2 separate regions of the Homo sapiens genome follow, and region 2 is linked to region 1. The links are contacts of gene promoters, found by promoter capture Hi-C in blood cells and fetal thymus (Javierre and others, 2016). All regions are on one chromosome and are shown on one strand. Each heading gives the region's core, a stretch centred on a gene start or on the middle of the fragment in contact. The rest is flanking DNA. Distances are from core to core; before and after follow the strand shown.

Region 1 (6,040 bases), core at 830-3,329:
AGCTGGGACTACAGGCGCCTGCCACTATGTCCGGCTAATTTTTTTGTATTTTAGTAGAGACAGGGTTTCACCATGTTGGCCAGATGGTCTCAATCTCCTGACCTCATGATCCGCCCACCTCAGCCTCCCAAAGTGCTGGGATTACAGGCGTGAGCCACCATGCCTGGCCCTGAAGTAGGTAATAGTCTTAGCCCCATTTCAAGGATGAGGAAATTGTGTCTCAGTGAAATTAAATAAATTGTACACGGTCATGAGCTAATAGGTGGCAAAGCCAGTACTGGAACTTAGGCACTCTGACTCCAGAGCCTGTCCTAATAATCATTGTGTTCCATTGTCAGACACAATAAAACTTAGGCCAGGCTGTGCACGGTGGCTCATGACTGTAATCCCAACACTTTGGGAGGTCAAGGCAGCAGGATGGCTTGAGTGCAGGAGTTCAAGACCAGCCTGGGCAGTACAGTGAAACCACGTCTCTACAAAAAGAAGAAAAAGCAAGATGGCTCATGCCTTTAGTCCCAGGTATTTGGGAGGCTGAGGTGGGAGGATCACTTGAGCCCAGGAAGTCAAGGCTGCAGTGAGCTGTGATCATGCCACTGCACTACAGCATGGGTGACAGAGGGAGACCTGTCTCAAAAACAAAACAAACAAAAAACAAAACAAAAAAACCCTTAGAGCTAATATTCATTTCTCTGAGTCTCAGGCAGAGGCAGTTTCTTTTACTGTTGTTGTTGTTGTTATTATTGTTGTTGTTGTTTTTGAGACAGAGTCTCACTCTGTCGTCGGGCTGGAGTGCAGTGGCAGGATCTTGGCTCACTGCCACCTCCACCTCCCGGGTTCAAGCGATTCTCCTGCCTCAGCCTCCTGAGTAGCTGGGAGTACAGGCACGTGCCACCATGCCCGGCTAATTTTTTGCATTTTTAGTAGAGATGGGGTTTCCCCATGTTGGCCAGGCTGGTCTTGAACTCCTGACCTCAGGTGATCCACCCACCTCGGCCTCCCAAAGTGCTGGGATTACAGGTGTGAGCCACCTCACCTGGCCGTTTTTTGTTTTTGTTTTTTAAGTAAAAAAAGTAAAAGGGTAATGAAGGAACAAACCTCAAACCTTCACAGAGGAAAGAAACTACAGCCTGAAAATCAACTATGCAACTGTGGACTAAAGCTATTTAAGCAAAGATCAACAAAAGATGACTCATCAAATTAAAACCCTGTGTGCCATGGAGCTCTATAAGGGCCCTGCTTTCAACCAGAATGACCTGTTTGTCTGTGAAATGGAGAGGAAATAGCTCAAATCTCAGGGGAGACCTCCTCCCATGGACCTGTGTGGGCCTCTATGGTAGATAAATCACCGGATTCTGCGTGAAAAATACTCCAAGACAACACAACCAAATTGAGACACTCAACTACCTATTAATTCAGGTCATACCCCTCTATTCACCAAAGAAGGCACAGAACTAAAGAGAGATTGCAAAACCAATGACAACATCCAACCAGGCAGCTTATATTTAAGAGGACAGTGAAAGAAAGCCAAGATAAACACAGTGGGTTGAGTCAGGAATTCACCTTCAGCTCCAGATAAAAGTACCCTGATAAAAGGGGAGTGATAAGCAGACAGAATCCAACAAAAGATGCAAACCAGATAATACAAAAAGAAAAGAAAAAAGAAAGCTTGACAAACAAGGGACAGATACTCCAAGAATCAATACCATTTCGATATACCATTTTAAAAGAAATAACAAAAACAAAGAGATATAAGTGATCAAAACTGGAGAAGAAAAGAGAGCTGGCAGAATTAAGGAAAGAAATCAAGTAAATATCAACACAGAAAAAAAATCCACATTTGACAGGAGAATGGATGATGCTGATAAAAGTCACATAGATTGCAATAGAAATTATCAGCTAAAAGTAACCAGGTCTGCAGTCTGTAACATGGATAAACCTTGAAGACATTATGCTAAGCAAAATAAGCCAGACACAAAAGGACAAATATTGTATGATTCCTCTTAAATGAGGTACCTGGCATAGGATGGATGGTGGTTGCCAGTTGCTGGAAGGAGGGGGAGTAGGGAGGTATTGTTTAAGGGGTGTGGGGTTTCAGTTTGGGGTGGTGATAAAGTTCTGGGGATGGATAGTGGTGACAGTTTCACAACAATGTAAATGTATGTAATGCCATTGAACTGTACATTTAAAAGGTTAAGGTGGTACATTTCATGTTATGTGCATTTTACAAAAATTAAAAAAAATTTTTTGAGACAAGATCTCTCTCTCTGTCGTCTCAACTTCCTGGGATCGAGGGATCCTCTCACCTCAGCCTCCCAAGTGGCTGGGACTGCAGGTGTGCCACCATGCCCAGCTAATTTTTAAAAAAAGTTTCTGCAGAGATAGGGTCTTGCTAGTTGCCCAGGCTGATGTCAAACTCCTGGCCTCAAGCGATCCTCCTACCTCAGCCTCCCAAAGTGCTGGAATTTCAGGGGTGAGACCCCATGCCAAGCTTACAATTTTTAGAAAGAAAAAAGTAATCAGGACTTGGGCTATCTTGGCCAATGTCTTCCTTCAAACTCCCCACAGCCAGAACTGACTTCAGGACTTGACCTGAGGGAGGCACACTAACACCACCTCTTCAACACCCTCCCACCTGCCAAAGCAATTTCTTTAGCAGCTCATCGCATTGGTTAGTCATTGCATTTATTCTGGAGCCCAGAAGGCTAAGAGGCATCAGTACTCAGGCAGTCCAACCCAAGTCCTTTGAAAAGTTCCTGTCTTGGGAGAGAGAAATCGGGAGTGTGTGAGCTCAGGGTGCAGGGCGGTGGGGAGAGGCTGCACCTCTGCTTTCCCACCGTCTTGCTCAGGGCTGGTGCTGCTCCCTGCTGCTGACACCACAGTCCCGTATTTTGCGTGTAGCTTTCATCCCCCAGTCCCAGAGTCCCCTCCTGATTCACAAGTCCAATTTCTCCTGCCATATCTCCGTCGGGCCTGGCTGGCTTTCATCTTAATCTCCAGGGCAGCCCTTCCCTTCTGTGATTGCTTCAGCAATGCTAGCCCCCAGCCAAATCCTAACCCCACTTCCTTTGCTAGTCTTTCTGGCCAATATTTACATACATGTGCTTTTTGGCATTAAGACTACATTTGACTTGTAATAAAATAGTAAAATTTATCCTTCAGACTTTCCAGGGCCTCTGGCTCATATTGCTTAGACGCCCTCATTGTGTTTCCCAAAATATGGTATAATACTGATGACAAGCATGAAGATTGGAGGTGGTATGGGGATGGATGTTCAAGATTTTTTATGTGTTAATTCTAATGCATATTAGGAAAAAAACAGTCCACAAAAAACTGACAATTTTTCATGGATTACATTGTATAGAATAAGGATAAAGTAAATATTTAAGGTTTAAAAGTCATTTTTTGTTTGTTTGTTTTTGTTTTGCGACAGGGTTTCACTCCTGTAGCCCAGGCTAGAATGCAGTGGCACGATCTCGGCTCACTGCAACCTCTGCTTCCCGGGCTCAAGTGATTCTCCAGCCTCAGCCTCCTGAGTAGCTGGGACTATAGGCGTTCACCACCATGCCCAGCTAATTTCTTTATATTTTAGTAGAGACAGGGTTTCACCATGTTGGCCAGGCTGCTCTCAAACTCCTGAACTCAAGTGATCTGCCTACCTTGGCCTCCCAAAGTTCTGGGATTATAGGTGTGAGCCAGTGCACCTAGCCTAAAAGTGAGTGTTTTAAAATAGAACTATTAAATTATAGTACAGGTAGTACACAGCTATGGCAAAAATCAGGAAGGTGAAATAAGAATGAAATTTGCTAACCATTTCCTGACTTTCTCTACCAAAATTTGTCTGACTTGTGTTCCAAACCTTTTGCAAATGTTGAGTGGCTACTTTGAGAAAGTCTTCTATACTGGCTATATGGGTCAAATTGTTGCCCCTTATAGGTAACATCTCTGGTTTTTAACAGAAGCATTTAATGGAGCACAATATAGGGGAAGCAGCACAAAACCACAGCAGTTTTAGCAGCCCGTGACTTTGTCACCAACGGAAATCACAGCTGTTTTCATATCGCATTACAGTTGTTGCTAAAATTTCAAAAAATAATGTATGCTTATCATTACTTCTTTATTTATTTATTTATTTTTAGATGGAGTCTTGCTCTGTCACCCAGGCTAGGATGCAGTGGCACAATCTCGGCTCACTGCAACTTCTACCTCCTGGGTTCAAGCGATTCTCTTGCCTCAGCTAGGCGCCCGCCACCATGCCCGGCTAATTTTTTGATTTTTAGTAGAGACGGGGTTTCACCGTGTTAGCCAGGATGGTCTCCATCTCCTGACCTCGTGATCTGCCCGCCTCTCCCTCCCATAGTGCTGGGATTACAGGCATGAGCCACTGGGCCCGGCTGCTTATCACTACTTCTAAATTACAGCAGTTCAGACTCACTGCTAGACCTCATTCTTTAATGTGTTAGTTAAGAAGCACATGTATTACTCCATCAAATGTGCTTTAAATATTTTGGTGATTATATTCCAGTGTTTCCAAAGCTTTCTTCATTATTGTCCCCTCTGGGAGACTTTTTAATTAAAAAAATTTTTTTTAAGAGATAGTGTCTCTTAAAAAGATAGCACGGTGGCTCACACCTGTAATTCTAGAACTTTGGAAGGCCGAGGTGGGTGGATCACTTGAGGTCAGGAGTTTGAGACCAGCCTGGCCAACATGATGAGACCCTGTCTCTACTAAAAATACAAAAATTAGCCAGGCATGGTAGCTTGCACCTGTAATCCCAGCTACTCGGGAAGCTGAGGCATGAGAATCACTTGAACCTGGGAGGTGGAGGTTGCAGTGAGCCGAAATCAAGCCACCGCACTCCAGCCTGGGCTACTGAGCGAGACTCTGTCTCAAAAAAAAAAAAAAAAAAAAAAAAAAAAAGAGAAAGAGAGAGATAGTGTCTCACTATGTTGCTCAGGCTGGCCTCAAACTCCTAGGCTCAAGCGATCCTCCTGCTTCAGCCTCCTGAGTACCTGAGACTGCAGGTGTGTGCCACTGCTCAGGATCCTTTTTAGACATTTCCCCCAATAGCTCCCATCCCCCTCATTAAATATTAATATCATAGATGTATCTGTTTATGTACCGCATGCTTATCTATCCTTTACACATAAAAAGAGTAAAATCTGGCCATGTGCAGTGGCTCATGCCTGTAATCCCAGCACTCTGGGAGGCCGAGGCGGGCAGATCACCAGAGGTCAGGAGTTTTGAGACCAGCCTGACCAACATGGAGAAACCCTGTCTCTACTAAAAATACAAAATTAGCCAGGTGTGGTGGCATGTGTCTGTAATCCCAGCGACTTGGGAGGCTGAGGCAGGAGAATTGCTTGAACCCGGGAGGCAGAGGTTGTGGTGAGCTGAGATCACGCCATTGCACTCCAGCCTTGGCAACAAGAGCCCCCTTCCAAGAATTAATTTTTTCCCCTTGAGAGCAATATCACTCCCATTAAGAATACATGCTGTATTCTAATGCCATCAGTTTCCTTTATAACCATATGTATTATATTGCATGCATTTAGAAATATTGTTATTAGAAAGGATCCACAGGTTTCACACACTGACATTGGTCCACGGCACACACAAAAAATTACTCCCTACCCTGATTTTAAGTCCCTCAATTTTCTCATCACAAATAACGATTTTATACTCTAAGGGATACATGACAACTTCCTTAATACATCTTCATAGCTGACAGTCTCTACATTAGGCTAAAGATCTTTCAGCTGACTAATATCCAGTTAGAAAAATCCTATCTTCTGCTTCTGTTTATCTTTCCATTTCAAGACTAAGAGATAACTGATTGGTTCTATTATACACATAAATGTCCTGTTCTTTCCTTAAATCTTACATTTATGCAAGGAAGCCAGCCCCATAAAGTAAAATTTCACGTGCCAATGATGTGATGTGTAGAGGAAATTCCATCACTCTAGGAAACATAACAGAACACCTAGATTTATGTCCTTAGTCTGTCCCTTTGTTTGTGTGACTGTGACCTGTTTCCTATGT
Region 2 (5,770 bases), core at 2,645-5,144, 160 kb after region 1:
TGAGAGCCTGGTGCTGGAGGGCTGGGTATCCCCTTGGCCTGCCACCAGCACCTGCACCCACACCAGGCTGGAGCCACGCTCTGCGCACAGAAGGTGGCCTTGATTTCTCAGGCACAGCTGACCTCAGAGATACTGGTCCTGACTCTGCCAGGTCTCTTATCCCTAGTCTTGTTGCCCCAGTTCCTTCTGGATTCAAGGCGATGTTGCCTCAAAACAAGGACCAGGTGCTGCCACAGACCTCAGTGCTCCCTGGGCGCCCCACTTGGGGCTTCTCACAACTTGTGGACTCCTCTCCTCACAACCTACAGCCTCTCTCTCCCCATCAGGGCCTCCCTCCCTCTCAACCACCGTTCTCTTCCACTCAGTCCCGTCGTCCCTCCTCCCCTCCACCAGCATCCCCCTCTCCTGGCTTCCAATTCGGCTCTTGTGACTCAAATTCTGACTTTGCTCCACATCCCTATTCTCCCTCTCTCCCAAGTTCCCCTACTTTCTTTCACCAGAACTACCTCTCTCTCCCCCGTCCACGTGCATCCTCTCCCTCCAACCACTGGCTGTACCCCTCTCCCCCTCTGACCCCTTCCTTTTCTCCCTCCCAGCCTCAGAACTCCTCCCTTCCCCACTCACCTTGCCAGTCCCCTTCCCACCCCGAGGAACTGCATAGCTCCACACTCACTTCCCCAGGCCCCAGCCCACCTTCTCATAGGCTCCACTCTAACAGGCAGACATGGCGCTGGCATCAGTACAGGGACACTGGGTCCGGGTCCCCTGGAGTGGTGGAGAGATGCGTGCCAAGCGAGAAGGATCCTGCACAGTTCAGGGACCCAGGGGCCCTGGCCCAGGCCCTGGTGGTCCAGCTGGGGCACCGCCGCATCGCACACGACCTGCGGCTACTGCTTTTGCAGCACCTGTGGCTAGGCAGAACCGGCCAGGCCCCAGTCGTGGAGTATCCTATATGCCTGGTGTGCCTCCGGCCCCGCAGCCCCTCCTGCCCCCTCCCCAGGTACAGGACTGGACCCCGGCTGCTTGCTTTCCCTCAACTACTGCCCTGTGTGCAGGGCCAGGAATCTGGGCCACTCCGGATAGGCATCGGCTTCGGCCTCCGCCTGCCTCAGGGCCAGGCCAGGGCCTTGCATCTGCTGCCCGAGAAAAGGCCGAAGGAAGCAGGGCCTCAGGGCAAGGCTACTCAGGCCTGTGGGCATCAATTGCCAGCATCTCAGCCTCCAGCAGCTCAGGCCCGGGCCGACCCAGTCCCAGGCACACCCTCCCAGACCAGGAGCTTCAGGTCTGCAGGCCTTCAATCACCAAACTCCCCACGATGTTTCTCCGGGCCTCCACCTCGGGCACCAAAACAGGTCACTACCTCCCTGAAGCCCAGGCCTTGCCCTGGCCCAAAGAGGCCAGTTTCTCTGGAGCTCATTCTCCAAAAGTCATCAGTCTAGTTCCAGAGCCACGGAGGCCCCCTGGAACACCCCCTCCAAACCCAACCCTCCCAACCAGGCCCCAGATCTCGGGGAGTCCCCGAGACACCCTGAAGGGCTGGCTGGCCGGAGGTCAGGTGTGTTCTCCTGCTCTGAACCCTGGGAGCCCCTTGTGGAGTCTGCTGTCTCCAGGCTGAAGAGGACCAAGGGCACCAAGGCCCCATTCAGCCCTCCGTGTATCTAATAAAGTCTGACCCTGTGAAACTTGTGTTTGCGTCCTGCTGAGTCCACAGAATAGGTGGCTGTAACTATAGGGGTGCCAGTCCCTAACAAGACCCTTGGTGGCGGGGAGGGGGTGGTTCATGCCTATAATCCCAACACACTGGAAGGCTGAGGTAGGAGGATCACTTGAAGCCACGAGTTTGAGACCAGCCTGGGCAACATAGCAAGACCCTGTCTCTCCAAAAACAAAAATATAAAAAAATTAGCTGAGTATGGTGGCGCGTGCCTGTACTACCAGCTACTCAAGAGGCTAAAGTGGGAGGATCACTTGAGTCCAGGAGTTCAAGGTTGCAATGAGCTATATCATGCCATTGCACTCCAGCCTGGGTGACAGAGACCCTATCTCAAAAAAAAAAAAAAAAAAAAGAGGGCATGGTGTGGTTGCTCATGCCTATAATCCCAGCACTTTGGGAGGCCAAGGTGGGCATATCATTTAAGGTCAGGAGTTACGAGACCAGCCTGGCCAACATGGTGAAACTCCATCTCTACTAAAAATACAAAAATTAGCTGGGTGTGGTGGCGGGTGCCTGTAGTTCCAGCTACTCAGGAGGCTGAGGCAGGAGAATCACTTCAACCTGGGAGGTGGAGGGTGCAGTGAGCTGAGATCAGGCCACTGCACTCCAGACTGGGCAACAGAGCGAGACTCCGTCTCAAAAAATAAAAAAGACCCTGGAGGGTGGTGTCAAAGGAAACGGAGAGGCCAGAAAGAGCAGGTGCCATGTATCCAAGGAGGACAAGGGACCCACAAGGCCTGGGGACTTGAGATATGCAGAGAGCTTGGCCAGGCCCTTCACACATCTAATTCAACTCTGTGGGACAGATATTGGCATCCCCAAAGATGAAGCCACTGCGCTATTCCTCTGGGTGCACCTTAGGTTAATGAGAATGCAGGAGAGGGCGTCTCTTTGCAGGGAAGGACATCCCTTGTGCTCGCTCTCAGGAGTGCACAAAGGTCCTCATCAGATCAGAAACCCGAGGGAGAATGGAGTGTCAGGCGCAGAAGATACCTGCCCGGGAGCCAAACTGCCCCCTCTGAGGCCAGCAAAGCAGCTGGCCACCCACCAAGCCACCAGCCCAGGAGTGTGAAGCCTTGAGAAAGGGAATGGCAGACACCACCCCTGCCAAAAGTGGGCGATAGGCGTTAAGGATGACAGACGTGTCCTCATACGAGGAAGCAATGGATTCAGCATTTGAAGTCAGGTTTATTTTTAAGTTCATGCTGCCTCCGTTAAGAAGCAAGAGACTCCGGTGGTTTCTGGTGTGTGCCCTCGGGCAAATCACTTCCTCTCTGAGGTAAGATGCAAAGGCCTGTGCTCCTAGGAGTTGGCATATCACTCCTCAGATGGGAACAGTCCTTATTTGAGGATTTTATGTGTGTGAGAGACAGGGTCTAGCTCTGTTGCCCAGGGGCTGGAGTGCAGTGGTGACATCACTGGTGGTCCAGCGCAGCCTCGACCTCCCAGTCTCAAGTGATCCTCCCGCCTGAGCCTCCTGGGCACCTGGGCCCACAGGTGCCACGATGTTTGGCTAATTTTTAAATATTTCGTAGGGACGGATCCCCATGTTGCCCAGGCTGTCTCGAAAGCCTGGGCTCAAGCCATCCTCCTCTCTCGGACTTTCCGAAAGTGTTGGGATTACAGGAGGATTACAGGCATGAACCACCGTGCCTGGCAGAGGATTTTTTTTTTTTTGAGACGGAGTTTCACTCTTGTTGCTTGTTGCCCAGGCTGAAGAGCAATGGCAATGGCGCGATCTCGGCTCACTGCAACCTCTACTTCCCAGGTTCAAGTGATTCTCCTGCCTCAGGCTCCCGAGTAGCTGGGATTACAGGCGCACGCCACCACGCCCTTTGTATTTTTGGTAGAGACGGGGTTTCTCCATGTTGGTCAGGCTGGTCTCGAACTCCTGATCCGCCCGCCTAGGACTCACAAAGTGCTGGGATTACAGGCGCGAGTCGGATTTCTTTATTAAAGGTTGACCTTCATCAACCTCCATTGGCTCCACCTCCTCCGCCCGCGCCCCGCGCCCCGCACAAAAATGGCGAAGTCGGTGCTGGGCGACTCTGCCTCCGCGCCAGGGGTGGAGAACCGAAGCCCCGCCCCGGGAAACGCGGCCCCGCGGCCGGCTAGTGCTGACGCGTGTCGGCGCTCCTGCGCCTGCGCGGAGGGAGCCGCGAGACAGGTGCGCATGCGCAGTGCGCGTCTGCGAGACCGACTTGGACGGAGCCGAGCTGAGGCTCGGCTTCCTGCTGATGGTCAGGGTTTTGGCAACTCCCCGGTGTGAGAGGGGTAGGGAGTGCTCCCGGCGGCGACGGGGCCGAGTTCACCAGCCGCCGGGGCAGTAGTCGAAGGCCCGGCGCGGCATGTCCTGGGTGCCGCGGTGCGGGCAGTGAACGCGCGCCGGGCGGGATGGGCCGGCGCCGGGCGCCAGAGCTGTACCGGGCTCCGTTCCCGTTGTACGCGCTTCAGGTCGACCCCAGCACTGGGCTGCTCATCGCTGCGGGCGGAGGAGGCGCCGCCAAGACAGGCATAAAGAATGGCGTGGTGAGAGCGCAGGGCCACTGGGGCTGGGTCTTGCTGCGGGCTGGCGGCGATTCCAGGGTGGCCGGGGGGTCGCGGGGCGGGCCACACTCCAGCTTCGGGCCCTGCCCACTTCTGTTGGGAAGACCCGCTTGCCTGACGCCCAGGGGCGAATTTCAGTCGAGAACTCAGCGGGCGGAGGAGAGGCTTTTAAGGTAAAGTGAAAACTGCACACAGCTGCAGAGTCGCCAGGAACGCTTCAGCTCCGCCTCAGAGCAGCTCCAGGGGTCTTATACTGGCCTTTTCCGGGAGGTCTTGCCTGCCCTCTAGCAGCGGCGAGAGTGGTGCATTTGGGTTTAGGCTAAGTTCCTTCCCTCTCCTGAGCTTCACCCTGTTCTGTAAAATAGAGGTAATAATCCCAGTCCTGCTCACTGTGTAGATTTGTGAGGCCCAAATGAGAGAAAAAAGACTCGAGAAACCCTTGTGAACTAGAACGTGCAGAAAGCAAAGGGGTAAGACATCAGACTCTTCCCTAAACGTGCTCTCTGGGCACCCCTGAACTTGCTCATCCGGGTTCCCCCTCCCACAGCACTTTCTGCAGCTAGAGCTGATTAATGGGCGCTTGAGTGCCTCCTTGCTGCACTCCCATGACACAGAGACACGGGCCACCATGAACTTGGCACTGGCTGGTGACATCCTTGCTGCAGGGCAGGATGCCCACTGTCAGCTCCTGCGCTTCCAGGCACATCAACAGCAGGGCAACAAGGCAGAGAAGGCCGGTGAGGAGCTCCCTCTCTACCCCCTTGGGGAAAGGGTTGAACGAGTAAGGTCACTCTTGGTGTCTCTAAAGAAGTGGGTCTGGAAGTAGGGTTTTGGTAGCAAGCTAGAAGTTGTATGGGCACCTGCCATGGAGAGAGGGGCCAGTACTCCTTACTGTAGAAGCCTGGAACCTGGCCAAGTGTTTGTGTTACAGGTTCCAAGGAGCAGGGGCCTCGACAAAGGAAGGGAGCAGCCCCAGCAGAGAAGAAATGTGGAGCGGAAACCCAGCACGAGGGGCTAGAACTCAGGGTAGAGAATTTGCAGGCGGTGCAGACAGACTTTAGCTCCGATCCACTGCAGAAAGTTGTGTGCTTCAACCACGATAATACCCTGCTTGCCACTGGAGGAACAGATGGCTACGTCCGTGTCTGGAAGGTGTGGGTTTGCAGGGTTAGGGAGGGTGAATGTCAGTAGCAACAGGATCAAAATTGTGAGAAGTTGAACGTGGCATCTGGGAAACTTGTGAATGAAGCTTGCATTGAGGGGCCATTAGAAGGGGTGGCGTGGGCATCAGTCACAGTGTACTTGCTGGACACCTGAGTTAACCATGGTGGTTGTTTGGCTACAGGTGCCCAGCCTGGAGAAGGTTCTGGAGTTCAAAGCCCACGAAGGGGAGATTGAAGACCTGGCTTTAGGGCCTGATGGCAAGGTGAGGGGCTGGGGGTGGGAGGAGGATGGAGAAAGGAGAGAGGAGGTGCTTATGCTGCTTGCCCAGTAAGTGGATCCCCTAAC

The links. The method cuts DNA at HindIII sites, captures the fragments that hold promoters and counts their contacts. A CHiCAGO score of 5 or more calls a contact.
Region 2: a contact is called between the fragment with the promoter of PREB here and a fragment that was not itself captured in region 1, in 5 of 17 cell types (naive B cells, M2 macrophages, total B cells and 2 more). The highest score is 7.7, in naive B cells.

What each region holds. Positions count from the first base shown.
Region 1 is chr2:27,288,739-27,294,778 of GRCh38, reverse strand. All of the region lies in intron 1 of TRIM54 (tripartite motif containing 54), which reads right to left. Among named protein-coding and RNA genes, the nearest start is that of TRIM54, 9.3 kb to the right of the region's middle. The HindIII fragment of the contact is 823 bases long and covers 1,668-2,490 here.
Region 2 is chr2:27,132,760-27,138,529 of GRCh38, reverse strand. PREB (prolactin regulatory element binding) reads left to right here and starts at 3,894. Exons shown (of 9, transcript NM_013388.6): 1 at 3,894-4,243; 2 at 4,809-4,998; 3 at 5,193-5,413; 4 at 5,607-5,687. The coding sequence starts at 4,109. It overlaps PRR30 (proline rich 30), which reads left to right. Exons shown (of 3, transcript NM_178553.4): 3 at 1-1,682. The coding sequence starts at 201. The coding sequence ends at 1,439. RefSeq lists enhancers at 3,956-4,005, 3,481-4,137 and a silencer at 4,076-4,175. The HindIII fragment of the contact is 5,539 bases long and covers 1-5,512 here.